Regions from separate parts of the Homo sapiens genome. Here regions 1 and 3 are each linked to region 2. Evidence: promoter capture Hi-C in 16 types of primary human blood cells and fetal thymus (Javierre and others, 2016). All regions are on one chromosome and are shown on one strand. The core of a region is centred on a gene start or on the middle of the fragment in contact, and the rest is flanking DNA. Distances in the headings are between cores, read along the strand shown. Region 1 holds the start of DLEU1 (deleted in lymphocytic leukemia 1). Region 2 holds the start of INTS6-AS1 (INTS6 antisense RNA 1). Region 3 holds the start of PHF11 (PHD finger protein 11).

What was found. The method cuts DNA at HindIII sites, captures the fragments that hold promoters and counts their contacts. A CHiCAGO score of 5 or more calls a contact.
Region 1: the fragment with the promoter of DLEU1 here is called in contact with the fragment with the promoter of INTS6-AS1 in region 2 in 1 of 17 cell types (fetal thymus); the score reaches 5.9 in fetal thymus.
Region 3: the fragment with the promoter of PHF11 here is called in contact with the fragment with the promoter of INTS6-AS1 in region 2 in 2 of 17 cell types (fetal thymus and activated CD4 T cells); the score reaches 9.3 in fetal thymus.

Annotation. Positions count from the first base shown.
Region 1 is chr13:50,080,782-50,084,583 of GRCh38, forward strand. It overlaps DLEU1 (deleted in lymphocytic leukemia 1), which reads left to right and starts at 1,388. Exons shown (of 7, transcript NR_109974.1): 1 at 1,388-1,776; 2 at 2,361-2,413. All of the region lies in intron 1 of DLEU2 (deleted in lymphocytic leukemia 2), which reads right to left. RefSeq lists silencers at 532-826, 690-909, 1,310-1,359 and an enhancer at 1,517-2,312. The HindIII fragment of the contact is 5,734 bases long and covers 1-3,802 here.
Region 2 is chr13:51,451,719-51,455,723 of GRCh38, forward strand. It overlaps INTS6-AS1 (INTS6 antisense RNA 1), which reads left to right and starts at 1,627. Exons shown (of 2, transcript NR_103812.1): 1 at 1,627-1,700; 2 at 2,285-2,998. INTS6 (integrator complex subunit 6) reads right to left here and starts at 1,318. Exons shown (of 18, transcript NM_012141.3): 1 at 697-1,318; 2 at 260-337. The coding sequence starts at 807. RefSeq lists silencers at 344-463, 474-743, 984-1,243, 1,474-1,673, 1,764-2,083 and 2 more and an enhancer at 1,304-1,353. The HindIII fragment of the contact is 2,653 bases long and covers 1,474-4,005 here.
Region 3 is chr13:49,493,519-49,497,395 of GRCh38, forward strand. It overlaps PHF11 (PHD finger protein 11), which reads left to right and starts at 2,435. Exons shown (of 10, transcript NM_001040443.3): 1 at 2,435-2,577. The coding sequence starts at 2,484. The region is part of intron 12 of SETDB2-PHF11 (SETDB2-PHF11 readthrough); the gene reads left to right. It overlaps SETDB2 (SET domain bifurcated histone lysine methyltransferase 2), which reads left to right. Exons shown (of 14, transcript NM_001160308.3): 14 at 1-1,485. RefSeq lists enhancers at 1,241-1,926, 2,237-2,476, 2,967-3,016 and a silencer at 2,497-2,776. The HindIII fragment of the contact is 2,314 bases long and covers 966-3,279 here.

The sequences.
Region 1 (3,802 bases), core at 138-2,637, 1.4 Mb before region 2:
CTCCTCCTCAGCGTCAAGAAAAGGTGGGGATCGCAAAATTACCGTTAAGTTGTCCGGGTAAAGACTTTTGGGGGAGGAAAACATTAATAGTTTCACAGATTGCTTTTTTCCTTGCGACATGTTTCAAACACCGGAGAAGAAAAAAGTCTTCTAAGAAAGTGCGACTCGGAGGAAATAGCCACGAGAAGGAAATCGTTAGCTCGAAGCCCCATCTTTCATCTCACCCGTGAACACTCCTCCCCTTTGAGAAAGGACAACGCTGCGAGAGCAAATGACAAAAATCCCCAGAAAGAAGCTAAAGTCCAGCATCTTTCCTAAGAGCCCGCTACAACCTCAAAAGCCTGCCCCTGCCCCATCTTGGAAGCGCGAGCCGCGGCCAGTCCTACCTACCTAGAGACCTCACCGGGACCCAGCGCGCCGGGGGAGGGCAGCCAGGGCTTGGGAAACTCTTTCCTGGGGCACCTCACGCTTCAGCGTCAAAAGACAATATAGATAGATGGGTGCCGGGCGGTGGCGGGGGGGACTGTTGCCACGACCCACCGGAGGGACCCATGACTCCGGGTCCTGAATTTTCTGTCGACCTTAAGTTTCTTGTCACGAGATGACGGCCATCACCGGGTCGAGAAAACGGCGAGAAAAGGCGGCCCGGTTCGGAAATGGGGGAGGGGCGCGCGTCCAGTCCTCCTGTCAAGGAGCGGCCGCCTGCAGAGACCCCGCAGTGCGCCGTCCCCGGCTCCGGTCCCGGGCGGGGGGTCTTGCTGACAGATCCGCTGGGCGGCGGCTGCTCCGCCGCAGCCGGTCCGCGTCCCGCTCAAACTGCAGCTCCCCTCCCCCCACAGCCCCGTCTCTCCGCGCTCCCGCCACATTCCGCCCGCCGCCGCCCACTCGCAGACGCCCAAGTTGCCCCTAACCCTACTTCCTCGGATTTTTCGCGATTAAGTGAGAGTAGACCCCGCGCCCACTCCCTGCACCCACCACTGCCTGCGGGTCCCACCACTGCCACCTCCCGAGTCCCGCTCTGCTACTTCTTCAGGCTCTTACCGACTGCGCCAGCCTTGGCGAAGCTCCGCCGACTGCCCTTTGCTCCAAGTAATTTTTGGCGATTTTTAAAGTAATTTTTCCGGCGGAGTCATAGTGGCGCTATACTCTCGGACAGGTTATCCTGTCTCTCCCGCTAGATTGATGAGATCAGGCATCACTCGAAAATGGCGCCGAAAGCGCTGAGGCTCCTCATTCAAATTCGTTAGAGCCAACCCCGCCGCCCCAGGGAATGCCGGGAACGCGGGCTGCCTCCACAGCTGTCAATACCGCCTCTTAACCCCCCTTCTCTTGCTTTCCCGACATTTTTACGCATGCGCAAACTCCAACCCTCCCCCCTCCTCCCGCCAGGCACATGCGCAGAATCATCGTGGTGCACGGCTCTCCCTTTGCTTCTTCGGTTGCAGTCCTCTTGCTTCTTGCGCGTGCGTGTAGCGCTTTTGCAAAGCCGCGGAGGTGAAGTGAACTTAGAGGTTGTGGGGCCGAGGGGTCGTCTTATAGCTACCAGCCCACAGGCATTTAGTCTACGTTGGAGGTAAACAAATACGGGTCCTGCTTAGGAGAAAAGAAAAACGTCTTACAGCCAGTGTCTAAACTCCAAACAACGGAATGTATCAATGAGACCTTGTATATGGATACACGTGCATTTAAAACCGCCCTGCCGGCTTGTAGAGCTTTTGCCGTTCTCCAGCGCTTTACAGGGGTTATCGCACTTAAGCCTCGGAACAACTTTACCAGGTAGGAACTATTACTGTTCTCGTTTTGAAGACCAGGAAACCTAGGCTCAGAGACGTTAAGTAATTTGCCCAAGACAGCACAGGTGGCACAGAAGTGGATGAATCCACATCTGTCAGATTCAGCAGCCCTGGAGTTCTCTACCACGCTGTACGATTCAACCTGAGCCCACACAGGAGGCGTGGTCTCCTTCTTCAACGGTGTGTGTGTGTGTGCGCGCGCGCCTGCCTAGAGTTAATGATTAAGTTTGCTGAAGCCCTTCTTCCCGGTCCTAAGCTGCCTGTTGCGAAGGCGCTTTCATTGAATTCAGTTTCTCTTACCGTCTTAACTTGTTCATAAACTTTTTGAGATAGGAATGGGCAGTTTTTCTGTGTCACTTAGGATGATTTTTTTTTTTAATGGCGTGATAAGTGAACTGAATCCAGCAAAGACGAGTTTCTGTTGTGCAACACGTTGGTATACTGACAGCTACCACGTATTGACTGTGTACTGTGTGCTGGGCACTGTGCTAAATAAATGATTTACGAATTAATCGTGTTTATTGCTCACAACAGCCTTATGAAGTAGGTATTATCTTCACTTTACAGATGAGGACACCTGAGGTTCAGATTAAGAAATCTGCCCCAAAGTCTTAGAACTGGTAAGTAGAAGCACCATATCTAGGCAAACCTGTCTACCTTCAAAAAAAATGGGCACTCTGATAGGACAATTAACGATAATAAAGTTGTAATTTTTTTTTTTTTTTGAGACGGAGCCTCGCTCTGTCGCCAGGCTGGAGTGCAGTGGCGCGATCTCGGCTCACTGCAGCCTCCGCCTCCCGGGTTCAAGCAATTCTCCTGCCTCAGCCTCCCGAGTAGCTGGGACTACAGGCAAGTGCCACCACGCCCAGCTAATTTTTGTACTTTTAATAGAGACGGGGTTTCACCATGTTGGCCAGAAGGGTCTCGATCTCTTGACCTCGCGATCCGCCCGCCTCGGCCTCCCAAAGTGTTGGGATTACAGGCGTGAGCCACCGCGTGGAGCCCTATAAAGTTGTAAATATTTTAAAACCTTCATTGTGAATGTTAAATAAGAGAGTAGATATGAAAGTGCCTGAAGTACTAATAAGGAAGTGGGAGAAGGGTAGCATGGTTTGCATTATTTAAGTGTCTTGGAAAAGAAATGGATTTTAGCAATTTGAGATCAGCAAGAAGTAACGTGGCAGAGTAGTATAAATACACTACTTAATCTCTGGTACTTTTTTGCACTACTTAAGTGGGTCGACTCTGGAACCGAGCTGCCTGGGTGAATCCCAGCTCCACTACTTACTAGCTGTGCCTTGTTGGGTAAATTATCTGTTGGACCTTTTGTAAAACAAGTACTATTAATACCTCATTGGACTGTTGTAAGGATGTAAATGAGCTAACATATTAAAGGAATTTCAACAGTGCTTGGCATATTAGTAAATGTTTGTTATTGTCAGTCAGTCATTGATCTTTTAAACTGGCTTCTTTAATGGTTGTTCAAAAATCAAACTACAGTTAGTGCCTTTAGGGGTCAGCATTTTTTTTCTTTTTTTTTCTGAGAGGGAGCCTCACTCTGTTGCCCAGGCTGGTTGGATCACTGCAACCTCTGCCTCCCGGGTTCAAGCAGTTCTCCTGCCTCAGCCTCCCATGTAGCTGGGATTACAGGTGCGCGCCACCACGCCCGGCTAATTTTTGTATTTTTAGTAGAGACGGGGTTTCACCATGTTGGTCAGGCTGGTCTCCAACTCCTGACCTCGTGATCTGTCTGCCTTTGCCTCCCAAAGTGCTGGGATTATAGGCGTGAGCCACCGCGCTGGGCGGGGTTAGCATTCTTATTCAAGAGCTCCTTAAAATGATAAATCAAACTGACAAATGATTTTTCCCAAATATGAATAATGATCCCTGTTAGGCAAATAAGGATGTTAATTTATTTTACCATCTCATAAGAATAATACCTGGAAATGGAATAGATTTATTGCTTTTTCTGATTGTTAAGGTTAAAAAACCGAGGCCCATCTAAAATA
Region 2 (4,005 bases), core at 377-2,876:
AGCGCCGCCGCCGCCGCCGCCGCCGCCGCTGCCGGGCCGGGCCGGGAGGGGACGGCGGTGGCCCCGCGACTCCGCGCCGCGCTAGGACGCTGCCGAGCGGGGGAGGGGGTGGGAGCCCGCAGGGAAGAGACCTCAGCGGCTGGGAGCGCAGCGGGTGGGGGAGGGGAGCATAATGAAGGGTGAATGGGGGGGCGGGGAGGGCGAGCGAGGAAGGAACAGGGAAGGGAAGGGAGGAAAGGGGGAGGGCGAGGGCTGTTACCTTGATAGCATAGGGCGGCTCTTCGAAAGTGACCAGCATATACCTGTCTCCTCTGCTGGCAGGGTCCCGGGCACGGAGCTGCGGGACGGGAGGAGGAACAGGGCGGGCGACAGGGAAGCACAGAGGCGAGGTTACGAGGCGGAGAAGGGGCGCCCAGCGGCCCCGCCGCCCCCACAGTACCGCACACGCAGCGGCCACCCCTCCACGCCGTCCCCCACACACAGATCGCTCCCCACACACCGCCCGGGGCCGGAGCCCGGGCCCCGGCCGAACCCGGCTCGCAGCGCCCGCCCGCCCGCGCGGTGGGGGAGGGGGTCCCCGAGCCCGGCAGCTCCCGCAGTCAGGTCCCCGACACCCCCGCCCCGGCCGCCCTCCCCCACCCTGCCGCCCGCGGGCCGCCGGGCCGGGGTCGCCGCCCGGGCTCGGTCAGTCGGTACCTTCATGAAGGTCTCTACCGCGCCTTTGGCCGTGTCCAGGTAGGTGGTGCCCAGATGGCTGCGCTGGTTCATAGAGGCAGACGTGTCTATCAGGAACAGTAAGATGGGCATAGTGCTGGCCGGGGACACCGGGGCCCGAGGTGGTGGAGAAAGAGGAGATGGTAGAGGTGGAGGCGCCGGTGGCGGCGACCGCCGCTACGCGGGGCGGGGGAGCACGGCCCCCGGGAGGAAAACACTGTCTGGGTCTTTCCTCCGGCTGCGGGGAGTTTCTCCCCCGATAGTTGAGAGGAAACTCCCCAGACCCAGTGCTCCCCGTCGTACCCCCGCCTCCGCCTCCTCCTGCCTGCCTGCCCGCTGGGGCGGGCGCCCAGCCGTCTGTCTGTCGGTTCGTCCCCCCCGCCTCGGGGGTCCCGTCCCCGCTCCCGGCCCCTGTGTGTGTCCCAGCGGGAGACGGGCCTGGCTCCCCACCCCACCCCCGGTACAGGAGTGGGGACCTGGGAGCTGGCGAAGAGGGGAGTGGGCTGAGGGAAGATTGGCCCTGGGGCTGTTGGGAGAAGTTTCAGGGACTCCCTCCGCACCCCGGCGGTGTCACCACTTTCTCAGCCCCTCTCGCTACTGAAGCGCTTTTCTCTCTCACACTCCGGTTTTAACTCGGGCAGGGGCTGCGGAGGCTCCGCCCCTGACACGTCCCCGAGCCACGTGATACACCGCCTCGCCGTTCTACTGGTCAGGCCCTATCCTTTCATTAGCATATTTAAACAGCTCAGGGGCGGGGGAAGCTTGTAGGCCGGCTCCGGGGACAGTTATTGAGCACGCGCAGAGGCGGGGCGTCGGGTGCGCGCGAGCGGGCGGGCGGGCCGACCCGGAGGCGGGCTTCGGGAAGGGGCGGGGCCGGACTGCGGAAGGACCGCGAGGTGGGGGCGGGGGCCGCGTCCGCGCGCGCGGGGCGGCCGCGGCGGTGAGCCTGCGCGTCAGGGCCGCCGGCCTCTCCTTGGCTGTTGGAGGTGATAGGGGTCGAGGGGAGGGAAAAAGGGGCTGGCGTCAGCCGCCCCTGTGAGGTGGCCGTAGCGTGGACGAGTAAGAAGGGTTGAGTAAAGTGGACAAACACCTGGTTAGGAGAAGAGGGCAGGCCCGCAGCCGCCCTCCGGAGGAGGACTCGGGGCCTCGCGGGCGCCGGAGGAGGTTCCTGGGCCTCGGAGGGCCGCCCCGGCGCGCCGCCCCGGCGCGAGCGGGCGCGGGCGGGGGAGGGGAAGTGAGAGGTTGTTTATGACCGGGGACTAATCTCCTCCGCGAGTCCCAGCGCTCCCTCTGGGGAGTGCGGTTGAGGGGCTGTCCTCGCACGGAGCCTCGCTCGGCCTCGGGGGAGCCACGAGAGGTGGGAGTTGGACCCGCAGCGGGCCAGGAGCCCTGTCATTGGAGGACCCGCCAAAAAGGAAGCAAACCCTCTTTTTCTTTATCCAACCCCAAATAGCTAGGGCCTAGGGGGAAGACTCACATATCGATAAATGGTTTGTTGCCCGTTTTATTCTCTGGGAAATACAACTGATCTTACCAAAGAAATAACCTGTCTCTTGCCGTGTTTACTTAGAGCCATAGAATACCTGTTTCAGAGCTGAAGGGGACCTGAGCCCATGATAATCCATTACCTCGTGAGAAAGCGGAAAAACTGACTTCAGCTTGCCCAGATGGCGCAGAGAATGGGTTTCCCGTAACCCCGCCTGTGTCTTTCCTTCAGCCTCGTCCCAAATGCCGTGGGAGGGAAGGCACTCTCTGTCAAGCTGCTGTCACCTTACCTGAAGTAAGGAGTCCACGCCTGCATGTCCGAGGAAAACAGTTTTCTCAAACACATTAGTTGAAAAACTGAAGACGCTGCCTAAAATACAAGCTGAGTTAGAGACAGCCCTTGTAAGACTAGGTAGGTATTTACAGGGCCTCTCCCACTAGCTTTGTTTTTCCAGAGTTTGTTCTTTATCCGGAAATTCTTAATTTGCCTACTGATCATTTAAAGAAAGGGTTCTATTAACATTGACACAGAAGAGACACTTTGTGGCACTTTTTAAAAATCTGAGTCTCGTGACTTGGTATAACTTCTGAAACTTACTGTTAATTTATAGCAGAGCTATTTGAGTAATATGCTCTTCTATGAGTATGAACAATAGAAGAAGTGTGATTTTTAAAGTGATTTGGACTACAAAATAAGAGCATGGAATATAGGCTTTACAGCCAGTACTTGCTGAGGATGTACTGTGTATTAGGTGTGGTGCATATAAAAAATAAATAAAATGTGGTCCCTGTCTTCAAAGAGCTTATGTTTTCTAGGAAAATGCTACATATTACTAGCTACTCCAAGGCAGAAAGTTGTTAGACACCAAATCAGAAAAAATAAAAATGTATTACCTTGGGGTGATGCAGGAACATTTTCCAAGGTTTCAGCTTTGCCTTAGTGTTTCTTAAACGGATCATAGATCTGAAGATAAGAATCAGAGTTCTATGGCAAAATACGAGTTATTTTACCAGTTATAAAGATGAAATTTGTCTTTCAACTTGATCATTTGCATAATTTTATACAATTGCTCTTTAGTTCTTTATATTTGTGCTTTTCAAACTGGTCTGTGGACCCCAGCCTACTGAAAACATTCTCTAGGATCATAAGAATTTATTTTAGGAGTCTGTTCATTATTCAGTTTTAAGAAACACTGTCTTAAAGGACTGGTAGGATTTGGATATGGGTAAAGGAAGGGGAAGCTGCTAGTGAAAAGATCTTCCCGACATTGAAAATGTGAAGAAAGGAAGTTAAGACAGCATTGCTGAGGGCTTCCTGAGGAACAGTGAAGTTCAGCTAGGTTGGAGCAACAGGTGCATGTAGAATAGTACAAGATCTAGAAACACAGGTGAGATCTAGACAGTAGAGGGCCTTTATTCCAATCTATGGAGGTTTTTTTTCCCCTATAAATTGGAGATTTATTTTTCAATTGCGTTGCTAAGTAGAAGCAATGTTTGAAAGAAATCAAACTAGACTACTGAAGATTAACATGCGTTCACAATGACCTTACCTATTATTACAGTTATTCGAAATCATTTTTCAGTGGAGCCATTGTCACAGGATCCTTGGAGTGTCACTTTTCCAGCTGGAAAAATGGCACCTCTGCCCGAATTTTGGTCGGGCTCATTCTGCCCACCAGTCCCAGCAGGCTGCACTCTGCTCATACTACGGCCTGGATCCCACACCTGCCAAGTGCAAGCCAGGTGCGGAGCAGCGAGGGGTGTGTGAGCGAGCAAGCATGGGGTCCGGCCACTGTATACAGCCCG
Region 3 (3,877 bases), core at 1,185-3,684, 2.0 Mb before region 2:
TATGTGGGATCTGTTTCCAGTTAGATGCCATTATTTTCCTTTTCCTTGGTTTACTCTTCCACATATTGGTAAAGCTCTTCCAATAGCTTTTGGAAAGGAAAAATGAAAAGTAAATGTTTTGAATCTCTGTGTGTTTGACAATGTCTTTATTTTACCCTTATACCTGATTGCTGTTTTGGTTGGCAAGGTATAGGATTCTTTAGTGGTCTCCATGCCCAGTTTTGAAGACATCTGCTAGCTTTCAGTGCTGTTGCTGTGGAGTCTGAAAATCTGTCTTCTGGCTTCCAGGGTGACTACTGGAAATTGAATGCCATTCTGTTCCTTCTCTTTTGCATATATAATCCATTTTTATCTCTCTTGAAGCTTATAGGTTTATCTTTGTCTCAATGTTCTGTCCCTGTTAAGAGTCCATTTTCATCCTTTGTACTAGGTGCCTGGTGGGATCATTCCGTCTGAAACTAATGATTTCCCATCTCTTCACTGTTTCTGGAATTCCTGTTTTCCAGATGTTAGACCTCCAGAATTTGATCTCTAATTTTCCTATCTTTTCTCTTAACTTTCAGCTCTGTCTTCTTGCTAGGACCTTTTCCTAGGAGCATTTCTCAATTTAATCTTCCAGTTCATCTGTTGCATTTTATTTTTCTAGTCTCATATTGTCTCATATTTTTAATTTCTAAGAGCTCCCCTTCTCCGAATATTCTTTTTTTTTAATAGCATCCTATTTTGGCTCATGGTTGCAGTATTTTATCTCCTTGAAGATGTTTGTGTGTTTATGTATGTATATGCACACACGTATACATACACATACAGGCATGCATCTCTGTATTCTTTCGGCATAATCTGTGTCCTCCAGGGTTTGTTTCTTTGTTTCCCCTGTATGTTTGTTTTGGTCGTTCACATTATAGGCTTTCCTCAGAGTTAATGGTCTTGGTAGTCTACTCATATTTAAGTGTGGAACACCAAAAAGCTTACTATAAGCTGAGAGTGTGGTAAAGGGCTCTTTGTTTTACTATGACCTACCTGAGCTATCTTGCTGGGGAACACCCTAATGTCAGTCTCTTTATAAAGGGCCTTTCATTTTGGCCTGGCAAGAAATACTCTTTCATCCTCCTGCATGGAGGGCAAAAAAAAATTTAAAAATTGGCTGCTAGGGTCTGTCTGCTCACTTCCCTGTTTTGCAGACCCCACACTCTTCTGCAATTCATTTCATAGTTGTCAAGACTATACAAATTGTCCTTTTTAATGTTCTCTCTTCTGCTATCCCTAGTTGGCAGTCTTCCTCTTTACAACCTGCTGAAAGTGGAAGACCTCCAGTTTTCCTTTAATTCCTCAGCAAACCACCAACTATTATATGTCTTTTTTCCAGAACAACTTATTTTTTAACTATAATTATATGCATTTATGTTAGATTCACTGAAAACCTCATCTTGTATGGTGCTCTGTACCCTATGGGTGCTAAATAAAGGCTTGCTACTGGCAACTGGATTTAGGATCGGCTAATTCTGCGTCCTTTTAAGATATGCTTATTTAAGCCAAACTCGGTATGATAATTTTTTTTTTTTTTTTTTTTTTTTTGAGAGGGAGTCTGGCTCTGTCGCCTAGGCAGGAGTGCAGTGGCGCGATCTTGGCTCACTGCAACCCCCGCCTCCCGGGTTCAAGCGATTCTCCTGCCTCAGACTCCCGAGTAGCTGGGATTACAGGCGCCCGCCACCAAGCCCGGCTAATTTTTGTATTTTTAGTAGAGACGGGGTTTCACCATGTTGACCAGGCTGGTCTCGAACTCCTGACCTCGTGATTCGCCCACCTCGGCCTCCCAAAGTCCTGGAACTACAGGCGTGAGCCACCGCGCCCACCCGGCCAGTATGATAGTTTTTAGGAGGAACCCTCAGGAGAGTGATTGTTTCTCCCGCTGTGTTGTGGGGGGTGGAGTAGGGAAGCCTGGCGTTTGGGGTTTTTTTGTTTGTTTGTTTTTTGTGTGTGTTTGTTTGTTTGTTTGTTTTGAGACGGAGTCCCGCTCTGTAGCCCAGGCTGGAGTGTAGTGGCGCGATCTCGGCTCACTGCAAGCCCCGCCTCCCGATTCAAGCGATTCTCATGCCTCAGTGTCTGGAGTAGCTGGGATTACAGGCACCCGCCACCATGCCCAGCTAATTTTTGTATTTTTAGTAGAGACGGGGTTTCACCATGTTGGTTAGGCTGGTGTTGAACTCCTGACCTCGTGATCCGCCCTCCTCGGCCTCCCAAAGTGCTGGGATTACAGGCGTGAGCCACTGCTCCCGGCGTTTGGGTTTTTTAAGCTATTCAAATTAAGACTAGACTGGAATCTGGAGCAGTGTGTGTGACAACCCCTCTCTGCACACCCAACTTTCCCCGGGCCGGCTAGTGACTCAAAGCGACAGCCCAGATTTAAGAAAACGAAACCTAGTGCAGCTGGGGCACTTCCGGGATCTCGCTATCCGGCCGCCACCCGCAGCTGCAGCACAGTCATGGCCCAGGCGTCGCCGCCCCGGCCCGAGAGGGTGCTCGGCGCCAGCAGCCCGGAGGCCCGGCCCGCGCAGGAGGCGCTCCTCCTTCCCACCGGTGTGTACCGCGGGGGCGGGCGGGCGGGCGGGCGGGGCTGGGCAGCGACGGGCCCGGTCAAGGGGCCTGCCTTCCGGTCGTGGCCGCATGGGGGCCCGACCTGCCCCTACTCCGGGCCGGGGCCCTAGACGCCGGGGCGGCGCTGGACGAACTTGGCTCACCACTCGCGTGCCTGTTGGTGGGGGAGGGGGCCAGAGGACAGGGCGCGGCCCAGGCCAGTTCCACAGGTGGCTCTGACTGCCCATGGTTTCGCGCGAGTGGTGGGCACGCTTCGGTTTACCTCCCCCGCGGGTGACAGCCCAGTGCTTCCACCACAACCGATGTCAACTCTCCTAGCGCCCCTCCGCTCACCGGTAAACCAGGACAGTGGAGGGGCGCCCTGATGCGGTGAGGCAGGGGGCGGCCCTGAGGGAAGAGCTGGGTCTCACGTTCACGGAGGACGTGACTGGAACCCGTCTCCCCTTCTCCAGTCGTTCCAGTCCTCCCCGGCCCTCTACTTGAGTGGGTGGGTCTTCTGATGGGTTCCTGCCCTTGCGTGTGTGTATAGCTCCAAACGGTGTGCCAGGCTCAGGGCAAGGTCCTGAGCATACAAAGATGAGTTAGGCAGACCCTGCCCTAGAGACTCTACTAGGCAACTTTAATGAGGAGGTCAGAACCACAGAGGTACAGATGAGAGACTCCTGACTCCCAGTCTTCAGGGAAAGCTTTTTGAGGAGAGGATGGCTGGGCTTACCCTTTTTTTTTTTTTTTTTTTTTGAGAGGAGTTTCACTCTTGTTGCCCAGGCTGGAGTGCAAAGGCGCTATCTCGGCCCACTGCAACCTCTGCCTCCCGGGTTCAAGCGATTCTCCTGCCTCAGCCTCCCGAGTGGATGGGATTACAGGCATGTGCCACCACGCCCAGCTAATTTTGTATTTTTAGTAGAGAGGGTTTCTCCATGTTTCATGGGCTTACCTTTAAAGGGCAAGACTCAGCCAAAGGTGGAAAAGTTGAAGGGGTGTTCCCAGCAGAGAGGATGACACAAAGGCACCAAACCACAAAACGTCACACGTAAACATCATACGTGGCAACCACAAGCCAATCAGTTGGATATTTCATTCATTGGTATACATATGGACTGTAAGGTAAGTCACGGGAGATGCGCTTCCATCCTGACCTCTTCCTCAAACTCCAGACTGGTATAACCAACTTCTTCCATTTCTGAAATGATCTCAAACTGAGTATGTCCCAAAGAGAATTCTTGTTTCCTCCACTGTATTCAGGTACTCCAAACCTGCTCAACCACCAGCCCATTCCATTCGC